Linked DNA regions of Homo sapiens: region 1 is linked to region 2. The links are contacts of gene promoters, found by promoter capture Hi-C in blood cells and fetal thymus (Javierre and others, 2016). All regions are on one chromosome and are shown on one strand. Each heading gives the region's core, a stretch centred on a gene start or on the middle of the fragment in contact. The rest is flanking DNA. Distances are from core to core; before and after follow the strand shown. Region 1 has its middle 210 kb from the start of LINC02914. Region 2 holds the start of LINC02295 (long intergenic non-protein coding RNA 2295).

Region 1 (7,236 bases), core at 1,184-3,683, 780 kb before region 2:
GCTCCTTGTTTTGTTCTCTTTCAAAGCATTTAACATCTTGATATGTGCCCTAAAGTCAGCTAACTTATTTTTATCTGTCTTCTCTATGAGGGTGAGAATTGTTATCTGTTTTATTCACTGCCATTTTCCAGAGCCTAGAACAGTGTCTGGTACACAGTAGGTCTCAACAAATACATCCTGACTTGGATATAGAATGGTGTGTTCCACAGATATAGCTGTATCAGCTGCAGGCCTCTGCTTTAGCTCCAAAAGAACCTGTTATGTGTTGTTTTTTCACAAAAACAAGAGTATTCTCTTTCTCCAATGATAAATTCACATCTTCATGTATATGTTAAAAACAGATCAATTGGAAGCTTTGAAATTAGACACCCTTTCCAATCCTAAATGAGGTTTCAAAAATTTCAGGACTAATTTTTAGTTCTGGCAAAGCATGCAGTACTTCTCCCTGCCTTCCTTTTCAACCCTTTTATTTTATTTTATTTTATATTGATTGATTGATTGAGACGGAGTCTCGCTGTCACCCAGGCTGGAGTGCAGTGGCGTGATCTAGGCTCACTACAACCTCCGCCTCCGGGGTTCAAGCGATTCTCCTGCCTCAGCCTCCCATGTAGTTGTGACTACAGGCATGCGCCACCTTGCCCAGCTAATTTTTGTGTTTTTAGTAAAGATGGGGTTTCGCCATGTTGGCCAGGCTGGTCTCTAACTCCTGACCTCAAGTGATCTGCCCCCCTCGGCCTTCCAAACTGTTGGGATTACAGGTGTGAGCCACTGCACCCGGCCCATCTCCAACCCTTTTACTTCCTCCATTTCAGCACCATCAATCCAGTGACAAGAAGGTGATGGTCTTCTTCTGCTGTATAAACCAAACTCAATTCACTTTATTGAAGATGTGACCATGTGGTCCAGACACCGGGGGCTTAAGGACAGGAAACACAGCTCCAATGGCAAAAGTCAACTTAGAAACTGTTGCCTTGTTCCTTGCTTTTCTCTGAGTTCATCTGAGGGAGGCTGTTTGTAAACGGCAAGCACCTTCTCAGATCCTCATTTCCCCTCTCCCCAGTCCTCTTGTGCCTCTGCTGGGTGTCTTGCCTGCCAGCCTTTTGTCCTCATCTGTAAATGCACAGAGTAAGGGCTGTCCTGCCCCTCCCCACTCCGCAGGGTTGCCATGAGAAGCAAAGAAGCTATTGCATGCAAAAAAGCACCAAGGATTGGGCCAGCCCTTCACACTGGCTGTGGTGTGGTGTGGCCAAGGTGGGGACCTGCTGGGACCTCGTAGGGCACTACCCCTGCTGGTGCACTTTGTGGTCTCTGGCCTGGTCCTGTTGCTCAGGGCCTGGATGAGGTCAAGGTGACACCCAGGGGTTTGGAGCAGCTCATCCTTCCTTCCTTAGCAGGTTCTGTCTTTAGGAAAAAAGGTGGGGCTGCAGAGAATCTGATGTTGGGCATAGCCCTGAAATGGACTAGGACCATCACCAGGCCAGCATCAGCCAGAAGTGGAGTTGGGGCCAGGGGTGGTGTCCCCAGATGATGTCCCCTTTCTACTGGCATCTGTGCCCCGTCCCATCTCTCAGACATGGTTTGGGTCCATGAAAATATAAGAGAAGCTGTTTCTAGAAGACGTGTCTATGATTTTCATTGAATTTGTTGTTATTATTAGGAGAGAAATCCTAACACCTGAGCAGACAAAGCTTGATTTGATTTTTTCCAGGGTTCTGATTTTGAAGAGATATAATCGATATGGGGATTGGCCAATGTGGATGAAGCTGGGGCTGTGGTTGAGGAGGGATGTATTTGTGGAGGGTGTCCAGCAGCAGCTTTAGCCTGAGACTGCAGCCTACGGGAGGCAGGGAAGGAGGGGATGGTAAGAGCTGGGGAGTGTGTGGGAGCAGTTCAGGGGGAGGCCAGAGAGGGAGGGGCGCTGTGTTGTGGGCCCCCAACTGACATTCTAAGGACATTTCTGCTTTGCACTCGGGCTATATTCCGTGTGTGTGTGTGTGTGTGTGTGTGTGTGTGTGTGTCCATTGAGCTTGCCCTTGTGCCCTTTGAGAATCTGGCTTTTTATAAGGAGGATCTTCTCTTGGACACTCTCCCTTCACCTCCCTTCCTATCCTCACTCCACCTGAATGGGCTCTAGGCTTTGTCGTATGTCTCGGTACCCTTGGAGGCTCTGAAAATGCAAGGTCAAGGTCCCTATATGGTTATCAGATGTCCTCAGGGCTTTGCAACTCCGCTTCCTTCTCTAACCCCAGTTAGATTTGGACTTCAGGACTTCTTGCTATCTTGCCAGCTGTTCTACCTGTTTAAGAAGCTGTTTGGTACAGTTTACCCTGAGTTTTTTTTGTGTGTGTGTGTGTGTGATTTCCAGCCAACCTAGGTGGCTTTATTACAGGAAATGGCACTCTTCCCTTGAATGGCTCTATCACTACTGCCAGGTGCTCTATGCCTCAATTTCCCCACTCTGAGAGTGGAAGAAAATAGTACTTGCTCTGCTTAACTTTTTTTTTTTTTTTTGAGACATAGTCTCACTCTGTCACCCAGGCTGGAGTGCAGGGGCTCAATCTCAGCTCACTGCAACCTCTGCCTCCGGGGTTCAAGTGATTCTCCTGCCTCAGCCTCCTGAATAGCTGGGATTATAGGTGCACGCCACGACACTCAGCTAACTTCTTATGAAGCATGAATGAGGTTAATGGCTGTGGTGTTCTTGCAGGGACATGAACTCTTCTTCATATGACGGATTTGGAGGGTCCCAGCTGCTTTGGAACTTGTGATAGGGGGTCTCGTTTCACAGCTGTAAGTCTGAGCCCAGGGAGAAGTCAGCAGCCCAAAATCAGTCCATCAGGGGCAGCATCAGGACTGGAAACTGGGTTTTTTGGATTCCATATCTTGCTTCCTGTTCTCTTCATAGCTCCTCTCCTCTTATCACAAACCATGAACCACAGTGTGAGTGGGGCCGATTAGCTTGATCCCACTCAGGGATATAGCCGGGGTGGGGAGGGCTACACACTAGTTTCACTGCGATTTTGCAAGCTGATGATGGGCTGGGTGTTCAAAGCTCTGTTTTCCATCCTCTTCCTCAGCCTGAGCACAGTTCAGCAGGGTGGCGAGGACGTCACTTTGGATGGCTGTATCTTCTTCTCTCAGTCAAGGGTGAGGCTAAAGCCTGAAGATGAAAGCTTGACTCCTTGTTGGGTATATCTGGCCACAGATGATTAGGGAGGAGGCCCCAGACTGAACTTTTTCTCCAACTCTTCCTTTAGGTAGAAAGGGATGGAATGCAGGATTATGATGACTTAATGGGAAAAGACAGACTCCATGCATGGAGTTGCCTTAATAAACAGAGGATTTAACACTGAAGCCAGAGAAGTCTGGGTCTTAATCAATCTATATGAGACCAATTCTATTACAGACACAAGAGTGAGTCTCCATCCTTTTAAGACTTAATTTGCTCTTCTCACGTCAAAGCAGAAATGGGATGCAACTGTCTAACTGCCAACTCTAAGAAATTATTTATGAAAAGACAAATTCCCCACAAGGCCATCCAGAGAAGGGGGGAAGACAAGGGGAGCAAAAGGAAGAAAGAAAAGAAGGGTGGGGGGAAGGCAACCGGTAGACCTGGCGCTTGACACTAAAGGTTTAACATCAAATGCAGCCAGAAATCCATTTCCACAGTTTTACTGGCCATTCTGGACGCCTCATTTCAAAGGGAAAGATTTGAATTCAGAGACATAACGTTCCCTTTGTTCTCTTGCCCTCCAGCCTTTGGTGCCAGTGTGGACTGTACTACAGGGAGAGGGTGAGATCAAACCCCTCTCCGCTCAGCTACCTGCCCCAGAGCTGGCCCTTGGCATGCTTAATGAAATCAGCTTCTCGATAGATTGACAATGCCCTGTCAATTATAATCATTTATCTTGGCAAGCAGAGCATTGGAACACTTAAAAGAGCAGGGGTTCAGCAGGCCCAGGAAAACCAGAATAAAATTATACTGCATGGTAATCAGAGTGAGAGTATATTGCTCACATAAAATTTTACTTTAACTGTCAGAAGGACTGATATGATCTTACTTCTAATTTTCTGCCCATAGGGTGTTCACAGTTCCATTTGGGTCACTTTCTGCTAACTGTGATGTAATAGGGGATTTGCATACGGTCTATGTAAGAGGAGGAGGGCAATTACCCAGTGCACAGGGAAGTTGGGGTGTTTTCTCATTGCTGTTTTTAGGAAACACCAGGATGGGTGTGCAATGGCAATGACAGAGGTGGGAATACAGGATTGGAGGTGAGTCCTTGTTCTCCACTTCCTGACTGTGTTAGCAAGGGCAAAGCATGCCACTTTGCAGTGTCTCACTGTCTTTCACAACAGAGGAAACAGAGATTGTGTATTATTATAAATGCTGATTTTTGCTGGGCATAGGTCCACCTGGAGGATATGCCTGTCCCCTTCTTGGATCAACTTTGGGTGAAGCAGCAACAGCAAGCCCAGACCCATGAGAGAGGCAGCGGGGGGAAGCTGCATCTTGCTTCTCTGCTCATGATCTAGATGGAAGGGCCAGGTCCCGCCAGGCTGCAGAGCAAAGAGCAGTGAGTTGAAGGGTCTCCTGGCCTCACAGTCCCACAGGCCCTGCATGGCACCTGTCTGCAAAGCCTCCAGGAGAATCTGAGCCCCCTGAGATTGGGGCACTGCTGGGAGAGGGCTGGGGGACTCAGCACAAGGGAGGCCTTGTGAATGGAGAGCACAGAGGAAGGCAGCCGTCATCCTCAGATCCCCGGCTATGAAAACAAGGACAGAGGGGCATGAGGGTCAGCCCTCCAAGGCCAGTGGGCACAAGGGACCACTGTGGTCAGAATAATATGCACTTCCCTCCCTCCGGGCTCAGACCTTCCCTGGAGAGGAGAGGGACAAACCCTGAAGGGACTGAGTGTTTCCCCGTTTGACATCAGAAGGCACCAAGTTATCCTGAGCAGATGATTTTCTACCCTCAGCAGAAAGGAAGCCTGAGAGCTCACTTTGCACCCTGGGACTTGGCCTGGGAACACGTGCAGACCAGCAAGGTCATGCTTCTATTTCCTCTGCTGCAACCTGTTGGGGACATTCTGGTAAATGAAGTACAAATAAAACATATCTGCAGCCAACCAGGAAAAGCACTCCCTTTCTGAATGGCCTTTTCAACAGGCATAGACTGAGCTGCCAGTACCTGGCTTTCAGTAGGGCACAACCTGCTTAGAAGCCCCAGAATTTGGCAATTTGTCTATTGTGAGGGAGAGAGAGGTGTGTATGTTCCTTGCAGTCTGGGGGCTGGGGAGGGGTGGGGGTAGGCTGTATGACAGCAGAAACTGGGAATGGTGGTTGTGCTGGACTTTCGAGGGGGACCTACCAAGAACGCACGTTATATTAACATCTGGGGGGGGGACCTACCAAGAACACACTCCGTGACAGGCCTCGCCTAGGACCCTCCACGATACTGTCTCCTCCTTACCATTGCTGTGCAATGTGGGGGAGGGGGATTCTCTGTACTTTACACCTGGGGAAACTGAGGCTTGAGAGGGCAGAGAGAGACTCTTTTCACTCCTCCAGGAATGCCTTTCTTCCTTCTCCTCCTGCCGACCCTGGCCCCTGTGCCCCAGCCCTCAGCCCCTCCATTTCCAGGGCAGTGGGCCAATTTATTGCAGAACATAGCTCTGGGCAGCTGTGGGCAGCTGTTTTGGAAAAGGGCTTTATGAGGCCAGAACGTTGGCCTCTGCAGCCTTACTAAATTTCTTCACTTGTGCTTCTGCCCACAGGGGCCCTGACAGCTGAAGCTGGACAGCAGGGGTCGGGGAGTGCAGAGCTGCTCAGCCTGTCCTCCTTTTAGCTGGAGCCCCTGTGAGACGGGGTGGGGTCTGGGGCCAGGTCCCCTAAAGGGTACATCCCATGTTAATTATGGTAACATGGTAACAACCATACCTACTTCACAGGGGTATTGTAATTGTTAGCAGAGACACTATTTGACGAGCGTGGGAAGCCATCCCTTAGAGAGTCATGAGGCTCAGAGAGGTTAAGCCCCTTTTCCAAAGTCACACAGTACTCTGGGGGCCACTTTGTGAGCTAGACCTGGCTCTCTTAGCTTCCAACTCACTCCTCTTTCTTCACACTTACTTTCACAGCCTTTAGACAAGAAACAGCTCACTCCCTGGGACCTTTCTAATAACATTTTCTTTCTCTAATTCATACATCACAAATGTACTCCATAAATTAAAAAAAAATCATACAGCCAGTGGGAATGAATGAAGCTATTGTAAAATGACATGAATAGGAATTAAAATCTCAAGCTACATTTTTCTTTTCGGAGGCTGGGGAGGGGACACTAAATCTCTCAGTGGTGAGCAGGGTGCATTATGTCACGAGGGGTGAAGCAGACGCCTGAGTGGGAACAGTGGTCTTTGAAAGGGTGAAATGGGAGTGTCAAGGTTTGTAATCACATTTCCCCAAGATCACGCAGAGCAGGCTGCAGAACAAGGGGCCTTCTGTGTGGGGTCAGGCAGTGGGAGAAGTGGTTAGCATCGCACTGGCCACAGATGGGGAACTGGGAAGAGGTCTGGACTCTAACTATCCTTCTCCTTACCTCCCTCTTTCCCTCCCTGCTTCCTCAGTCCTTTCCTCCCTCTCTTCTTTCTTTCCTTCTTCCCTCCCTCCCTTCCTCTTTCCCTTCTTTCCTTTTTTCTTCCCTTCCTCCCTCCCTTCTTTGTTTCTTTCCTTCCTTCGTTCTTCTCTCCCCCATCCTTTCTTCCTCTTTTACATCCTCCTTTCTTTCTTTTCTGCTACCACCTGCTATATTCCAGACATGTGTTGGGGGCTCTGTTTGAGTCTGACCATCTGAGAATCTTCCAGGGCTTTGGATCATTGCCTGGGCTTGTCCCTTCCACTGCCTCATTTCTGACTGTCTAAAGTCCTGTCTTCCTTCAGTGTCATCTGAAACCCCTGCTTCCCCAAAGAACTGGCTCAGCTGCTGCTTCCTTGAGTCTTTTGCAGCCGAGAGACTCGGCTTGTCCTTACCGGTGGGTACCTGGCTCGTGCAGTTGTAATACATAGATTCTCTTACGTCGTCTTTCCTATAACCCCTTGTGGCATGCTGGTGCAAGGTTAATAGCACAGTTCTTGAGTTTCATCTGATGCGTGATTATTGCTGAAGGAAATTACTCCATGAGCAGGTGGAAGCTAACCCCATCTTACAAAGAAATAGAGGCTCAGAGGAGCTAGGCA
Region 2 (6,613 bases), core at 731-3,230:
TCCTGTAATTGCGAATTATTGTGAGGGAAACAGAAGGAAAAGATTTCGAAATTATGAGCCATTATGCTCGAGAGAGAGGAGAGAGAGAGAGAGAGAGAGAGAGGGAGAGAGAGGGAGAGAGAGAGAGGCAGTGGGGAAAAAAAAAAGACAGCCTGGCTTCATGAAACACAGCTGACAAGCTCGACTAAATTACCCCCGGACCATTACAAAAATCACTTAATTGCCAAGCATTTTGTTAGGTCAATTGACTCTAATTGAAAAAATAACAAAAAGCTTATTATGCTGCAAATGCGGCCGTGGAAAATGAGTCTTCTGTTAGAAGGAAACAATAATTCTAAATTTCAGCTGCTGCTAACACTACAAAGTTCAGTGTTTCCTTCGGATAGAATCCGCAGTGGAGGAGAAAGTGAATATGCATCAATTGATTTTTTTTCCTTTTAGCGCTTCCCCCCAACACTTCTTGCTCTTCCTGATCTTCTCCTTCCCTGCCTCATCCTACCCCCACCCTCATCCTACCCCCACCCTCATCCCCGCCTTGTCCCCACATGATTAGCAGGGGCCCCCTCCACCCCCTTCCATCAGCAAATATACACCTCACTCCCATCTCCCTCCTTATCTTCCTGCAAGAAAGGGTTGGGAGACAAAGAGGGGGCCAGCAGTGTGGGGCCCTGGGTTAGGAGAGATGTCCAGTATCTGCCCTCCCCAGCCCCAGCAGGATGCTGCAGCCTCGGTAAAATGCCTCCCCCACCATTTTCTTTCCATGAGCTGCTCTTTCTCTCTCCCCTCCTGGCTGTCGCCTTATCTCCTCCTCTCCCCTTTTAAATGCAGATAATAGAATAAGGCAAACAGCTTATGTCCGCAAAATTCCTCTGAAATTGCCCCCTAACATGCATACCCAGAGCTGGCCTTGATTGACATCAAGTGCAGTAATTAAAAACCCTGCCAGCTGACATAGGTGAAGGTTTATTTATAATTACACATTTTTAGGATGGCTCGTCCAGGGTCGGTGCATTTAAAAAGATAAGTCGGCCACAGCTCTGTTACTCCCCCAATTATAGATTTGAATGGTGGGAGTTTATAATGGGGGCGGGGAATTCTGCTTTGCAAAAAAAGGAATTATTTGTTCATAAAACCAGGAGGCCAGGGTACGAAAGTCTGATGGCAGAGCCTTTGTCTAGAAAGCTGTGGGAGAGAGAGTGTGTGTCTGTGTGTGTACCTGTGTATGCCTGTGTGTGCATGGGTGTGTGCACCTGCATGTGTACCTGGGAGTGTGTGTGTCTATCTATGGGTGTGTGTGGGCCTGTATGTGTACATGTGTGGGTCTGTGTGTATGGATGCATGCACCTGTGTGTATACATGTGTGTGCCTGCATGCACATGTGGGTGTATGGAAGGGGAGTCATGCGGTGAAGCAGAAAACACCTCCCTCTCCCTGTGCTTAAACACAGAGCTATACTCACAAATCATTTCCCTGCTTGCTTTATCTAAAATGTTAAAAATCTTGCCCAGCTTCAAATCCAAGACTATCAGATCTGACATTCCTAAGAACCCACTGTGAAAGAGGATTCCTCCGTGGGAGCCCAGGGAGCTGGGACAGGAGCTTCTGGGAGGACTGTGTGGGCATAGAGTTCCTAGGAGGCGGAAGCTGCCTGCACACAGCAGGGTGTTTGACACCCATGGGGCAGTGCCCAAAAGCAGCAGCCAGCAGGTCCCCTCTCCCCAACATCCGCTTCTCATTGTTGCCTTTTTTTAGAGCTTGGTATCACTTACCCAGAGGGGCAGAGCCGGCCATATCAGACTGTGCATCTCACGTGTGTGGTTTCTTGGGCCCCACAGCTGGAGACAATGGCAGGAGCGGCCTTGGAGAGCCCCGATTGTCACCTGGCGTCTTGGCAGGCAGCTGAACCCAGAAGTAAACTGAGCCAGGCAGGGAGCTACAGGTGTTAAAGGTACCAGAAAGCAAGGCTCGAAAATCAGATATGAGAGAAAAGGGGAGCAACAGGAAGCCTTTGTATAGGGGGTGCCACTGCATTTCAGACATGCCTGGCCAGGGGGCACAGGGCACAGGGCTTGTCCAAGAAGACAGGATGCAAAACCCACTGCTGACCAGGGAGCCAAGAGCTGTGAAAGGGTCTAGGTGGGTCACCCAGAACAGTCCCTCTGCCCCAGAACGCTGCACAGAGAGATTGCCTGGAAGGAAGCAGGTCCTTCCGATTAAGTGGCAGAACCCTACTGAGAGAAATAAAAGTGAGGAATGGTGAATTCGGCACCACTTGCCAGACCAATGGGCTTCATCAATTAATCACAGCCAAATAATCACCACCTACATTAAAGAATAATACATGAAAAGGACAGGAGCCTCACTGTAACTTATTCAGAAAGGGCTGCCTCCCTAATCCCTCTGAGTCCTGACATGTTAACAGGGTAGCGACTAATTAGATGTCAAAAATTCATAAGCGCTCTTTAATATTGCATATATCTGCAGCCGACATTTCAATATGAGAGTTGTATACACAGAAGTCACTATAGCATTAAAACACAGTGGGGTGGAAGAAATAAAAGGGAACCAATAAAAACAATGTCCCTTAAAAACCCCAGAGAGTGCCAGCTTTGGAAGTGTGTACTTTCTTATTCAGAAAAGGTATCACCTTAATAAGAATTATAGGCAAAGGGGTTTCGCTGCTCTGTGCTGCATGGACAGAAAGGGGGTGAGGAGACGAGCTTATCAAAAGCACTGCCAGGTAAATAGTAATTTATTGTGCATGCACAATGAACATTACCCAGTGTCCTGACACTGGGTGATAATGAAAGGCATGTTATTGTGGAATCCACTGAGGGAATTTCCACTCCCCCCGCTCCCTTCTCCCCTTCTCCTCTTGTCTCTCTTGAGCAAAGAAGCCGTGATGGGTCCTGGCAGCTTCTGCCTGTTTCAAGCCATTTCACATAATATAGAAAGCACCTGAAGTTTAGTGGATTAAGTAAGTGAGTTAGTTTGCCAGCTTGGTGATATATATGTTGCTTGCATGTGAACTTATATTTCAAATGCTGGGGACTATATTTTTATGAAACAAGCCTTTTCCTGTCGGAAGAATTATAGGAATGTGATATAATACAAGGCAGTGAGATTAAAAACAATGCATCATAGCAGAGAGAAAATGCACTGTTTTATGACTTGCATCCGTTAATTGAACCTCTCAGGAATCAAGAGAAGGGCTCTGCAGGAACCTGCTGGAAAATCACTCTCTTTTTTTACTTCCATGTTCTGTTTTTTTGTTGTTGTAGTTGTTATTTTTATTTTTTATCATACATATAGATACATATATACATGCATATATATATACACACACATATTTATGGACACACACAGCCATGAATGACGTATGTTGCTTTCTGTACAATACTGTACTTTTATTTTCTTTTAATGCTGCTCACATTTGACTTAGAGTGAGGAAGTTGTGTTGAAGAGCATTAAAGAAGCTATCTGAATTCAAATCATTAGGTGGACAATTGTTAGTAGCTGTGCACAAATCCCATTAGCCTTCTGGGCCTCAGTTTTCTCTTCTGCAAGACAGGTGTGGTGATGTTGTCCTTCCAGGTTGGTTAAAGCAAAGTACAGTAAAGACAACAGGAAAGCCAAGACTCCTGTGAGATTCCAAGTGCTATATAGACTTTCTGTCCTGATTATCTTGAGTTGAGACCATGGTTGGGCTGCTTTTTGCCACATATACTGTGATATTGACACAGATTTATATTTTATTGTCAGGTGAATTTTGTTTTTTACTTGAATTTCCCCATCATTGCAACAACACAGCAAGCTACGCAAAAGTGATTAATGATCAGTTTCATGGTTTGAAGGAAATCCCTTTCAAAGACAGTCCGGTGCCCCATCTCTGATTACATCCATGCAGACTCAATATTTGGGTGCAGTGCTGGACCCATGCCTCTCCCTGGAATGTCAACACCAAGGGGAGGTTTCCCAAGAAAGGATGAGACCTGACTTAGTCATCTGGCACAATGCCAGGGTCAATGGTCAATCTTTATCTGATTATACAGGGTCTTTGATTTGAAATTCACTATGTTAATTCAGGCTGAAAGAGTCCTTTATGATCAATATTTAAATCGTAATTAACTGCATTCACTTGCTATTTTTGTACGTCTGATTCTTCTTACGATGTTAAATCAGGTTCTTCCCTGGTTTCAGCATTTCATATTTCAAAACAATATTCTCTATCAAATTTGACCAGTATCTAGGAAAACAAGATCTCTCCTGGCTTTCCTGGAGTGCTGATAATGAGACCTTTCTTTCTTTCAGTTGGTTAAGATTAAAGTCTAAGTCACTTCATTCATTCATTTCATTATTCACCCACCTCATTCATTCACTCATCCATCCATTCCTGCATTCACCTTTCAAATAGTTTTGAGCACAGCTCCTAGCACCTGAAGCTATGTGTTTTCTCTTGGCAATACTGTGAAAAAAATTTATAGTCCAGTGGGTTTGGGCAACAAGTAAACAAGTGACTCAGACACTGATAGAAGTGCCAGGAGAGCAGCAGGTGCTTGTTAGGGGAGTGTCGGAGGAGGCAAAACAGGGCCACTTAATCTGGTCTAGGAAGGGAGTGGTCAGGAGAGCTCCCCAGAAATGTCAACCAGTCACTGGGGATAGAAGGACTAGTCTGAGATGAGAAATGACAGTAGGGGAATTGGCAGAGGTGAGAGGAACAGCACATGTAAGGGCTTAACTCAGGAGGTCAGTGGAGTGAATTTGTATGGTACTTGTTCTCTTTCTTCCATCCAATCATCTTCAGGAAACAGTACTTAGCATTGTTAAGGGGGAACCACTCCCTCTTGTTCTCAGATGTAATTAATAGCAAAATTAACCCCTGGGTCTAGTTTCAGGAGTGGACTCTCATTGGCTTTACCGATTATTGTACCCATCCCTTTGGCCACTGTGATTGGTTCAAGGATGAGTACACAACCCAATCAGAGACAAGGAAATATGAAGTATTTATTGGAGATTCTGAGAAAGGGAAGCCTTATTTTTCTTCATAGGATCTCTCGGCACTCTTTCTTTTTCTCTGGATAGTAGTTTGTAAGGGTGTAAAGTCTGCAACAGCTACAGCCATTTTTTTTTTAATCAATGAGGAAGAATCCAGAACATCCAGAATATTGCATAGAGGGTGAAGCCAGCATCGTGAAAGGCAGTACAGAAAGGTAGGGAGAAAATGGATGCCTATCATTCACGTGGCTAGGTCTGTGGTTGGCAAGCTCAAGAGCCAGGAGACCCAGTGATTTAGTTCCAGTCCAAGTCTGAGCATCGAGAGAGTCTATAGTATAAGTTTCTGTCTGAAGGCCAGCAGACTCTCAGCCCAGAAAGAGATTTGACACAGGAAAAAAAAAACCCTATGTTCCAGCTCAAGGCAGTCAGGTAGCAGACGTTCCCCATAACGTAGGACAAGGTCAGCCTTTTTATTCTATTCAGGCCTTCAACTGATTGGTTAAGGCCCACTCAAATTCAGAAGGGCAGTATGCTTTATCCAAAGCCCACCAATTTAAATGTTAATCTCATTCCAAAACAGCCTCATAAAAACACTCAGAATAATGTGCGATCAAATATCTAATTAGTCTGCAATCCAGTCAAGCTGACGCATAAAATTAACCACAACAGGCAGGAACTAGGACTTTGTGTGAGTATCCATAATGTATAATGTAGTGCCTGGTACACGGTAGGTGCTCAATAAATACTTCTGAATAAAGTTCATAAATAGCCAGGCTGGCTGGTAATTTTTAGCAAAGAAGACACAGCATTTGGATATGGTATTTATCTTTAAGAGCATAAAGTTCAATTTGATAACCCCTGGCTCATGCACTACTTACTCCTGACCTCTCCACTGGTGAACTTGAGCCGAAGGTTGTGTTCAGCTTCTCATCATTTCTGATTTGGAAGGAGCTTTTCCAAGAGTTCAGAGGCTCCTTTCAAAACTGAGCCTGAGCCTCCTAGCAACCACAGTCACAGGACCTGAGCAGCCAAACCCATTCTGCCTTCAGGGTTGCCCCTCTCTCCCCATGCACACACATTACAGCAGCCCCTTCCAGCCACACAGCCACTGAGCATTTCTGTAGCCTCAGTGTGCAGCTGTGCAAATAAGCACCCTTGGCTCTGAGGTATGCCATTCCCCAGGAACATGACATTGAGCACCAAATCCCAGGACTTATCCTCTGTTTTCAGCCCTCTTTCCAGAAAAGCTACATGATGTGAGTCCTGAGCTCTATCTGATTGGACTCCTTCCATATCTGAACTCTTTCACTCTGGCCTCTAGTTCCAAGTCCTGCTTCCTGTGGTTTGAGTGTTGCTTGTGTGGTCAACACGCTCATGCCTGACAGTGACTCTGGAAATGACAACTATATTGAAAAGAGGAGGCTTACTTTGTGTGTATATGTAGGGGAGGAACCAGATCTGGCAAGCAGGAAAGATGATTTTGACTCAAAGTGAAGATGAAGCTATGTCCAGGGATAGTTCAGAATATGGGATCATGGGCAAGTTATATATTCAAGATCCTGAGTTTGACTTGGTCAGGCCTTGAGTCTGCTCTCCACCATGTCTTGGACAGGTAGGG

The links. Contacts are between HindIII fragments. The CHiCAGO score rates a contact against its expected background, and 5 or more counts as called.
Region 1: a fragment that was not itself captured here is called in contact with the fragment with the promoter of LINC02295 in region 2 in 1 of 17 cell types (fetal thymus); the score reaches 5.2 in fetal thymus.

Annotation. Positions count from the first base shown.
Region 1 is chr14:98,913,621-98,920,856 of GRCh38, reverse strand. No RefSeq gene overlaps it. Among named protein-coding and RNA genes, the nearest start is that of LINC02914, 210 kb to the right of the region's middle. The HindIII fragment of the contact is 1,485 bases long and covers 1,691-3,175 here.
Region 2 is chr14:98,131,354-98,137,966 of GRCh38, reverse strand. LINC02295 (long intergenic non-protein coding RNA 2295) reads right to left here and starts at 1,980. Exons shown (of 3, transcript NR_184268.1): 1 at 1,770-1,980. All of the region lies in intron 1 of LOC105370655 (a long non-coding RNA gene), which reads left to right. The HindIII fragment of the contact is 6,410 bases long and covers 276-6,613 here.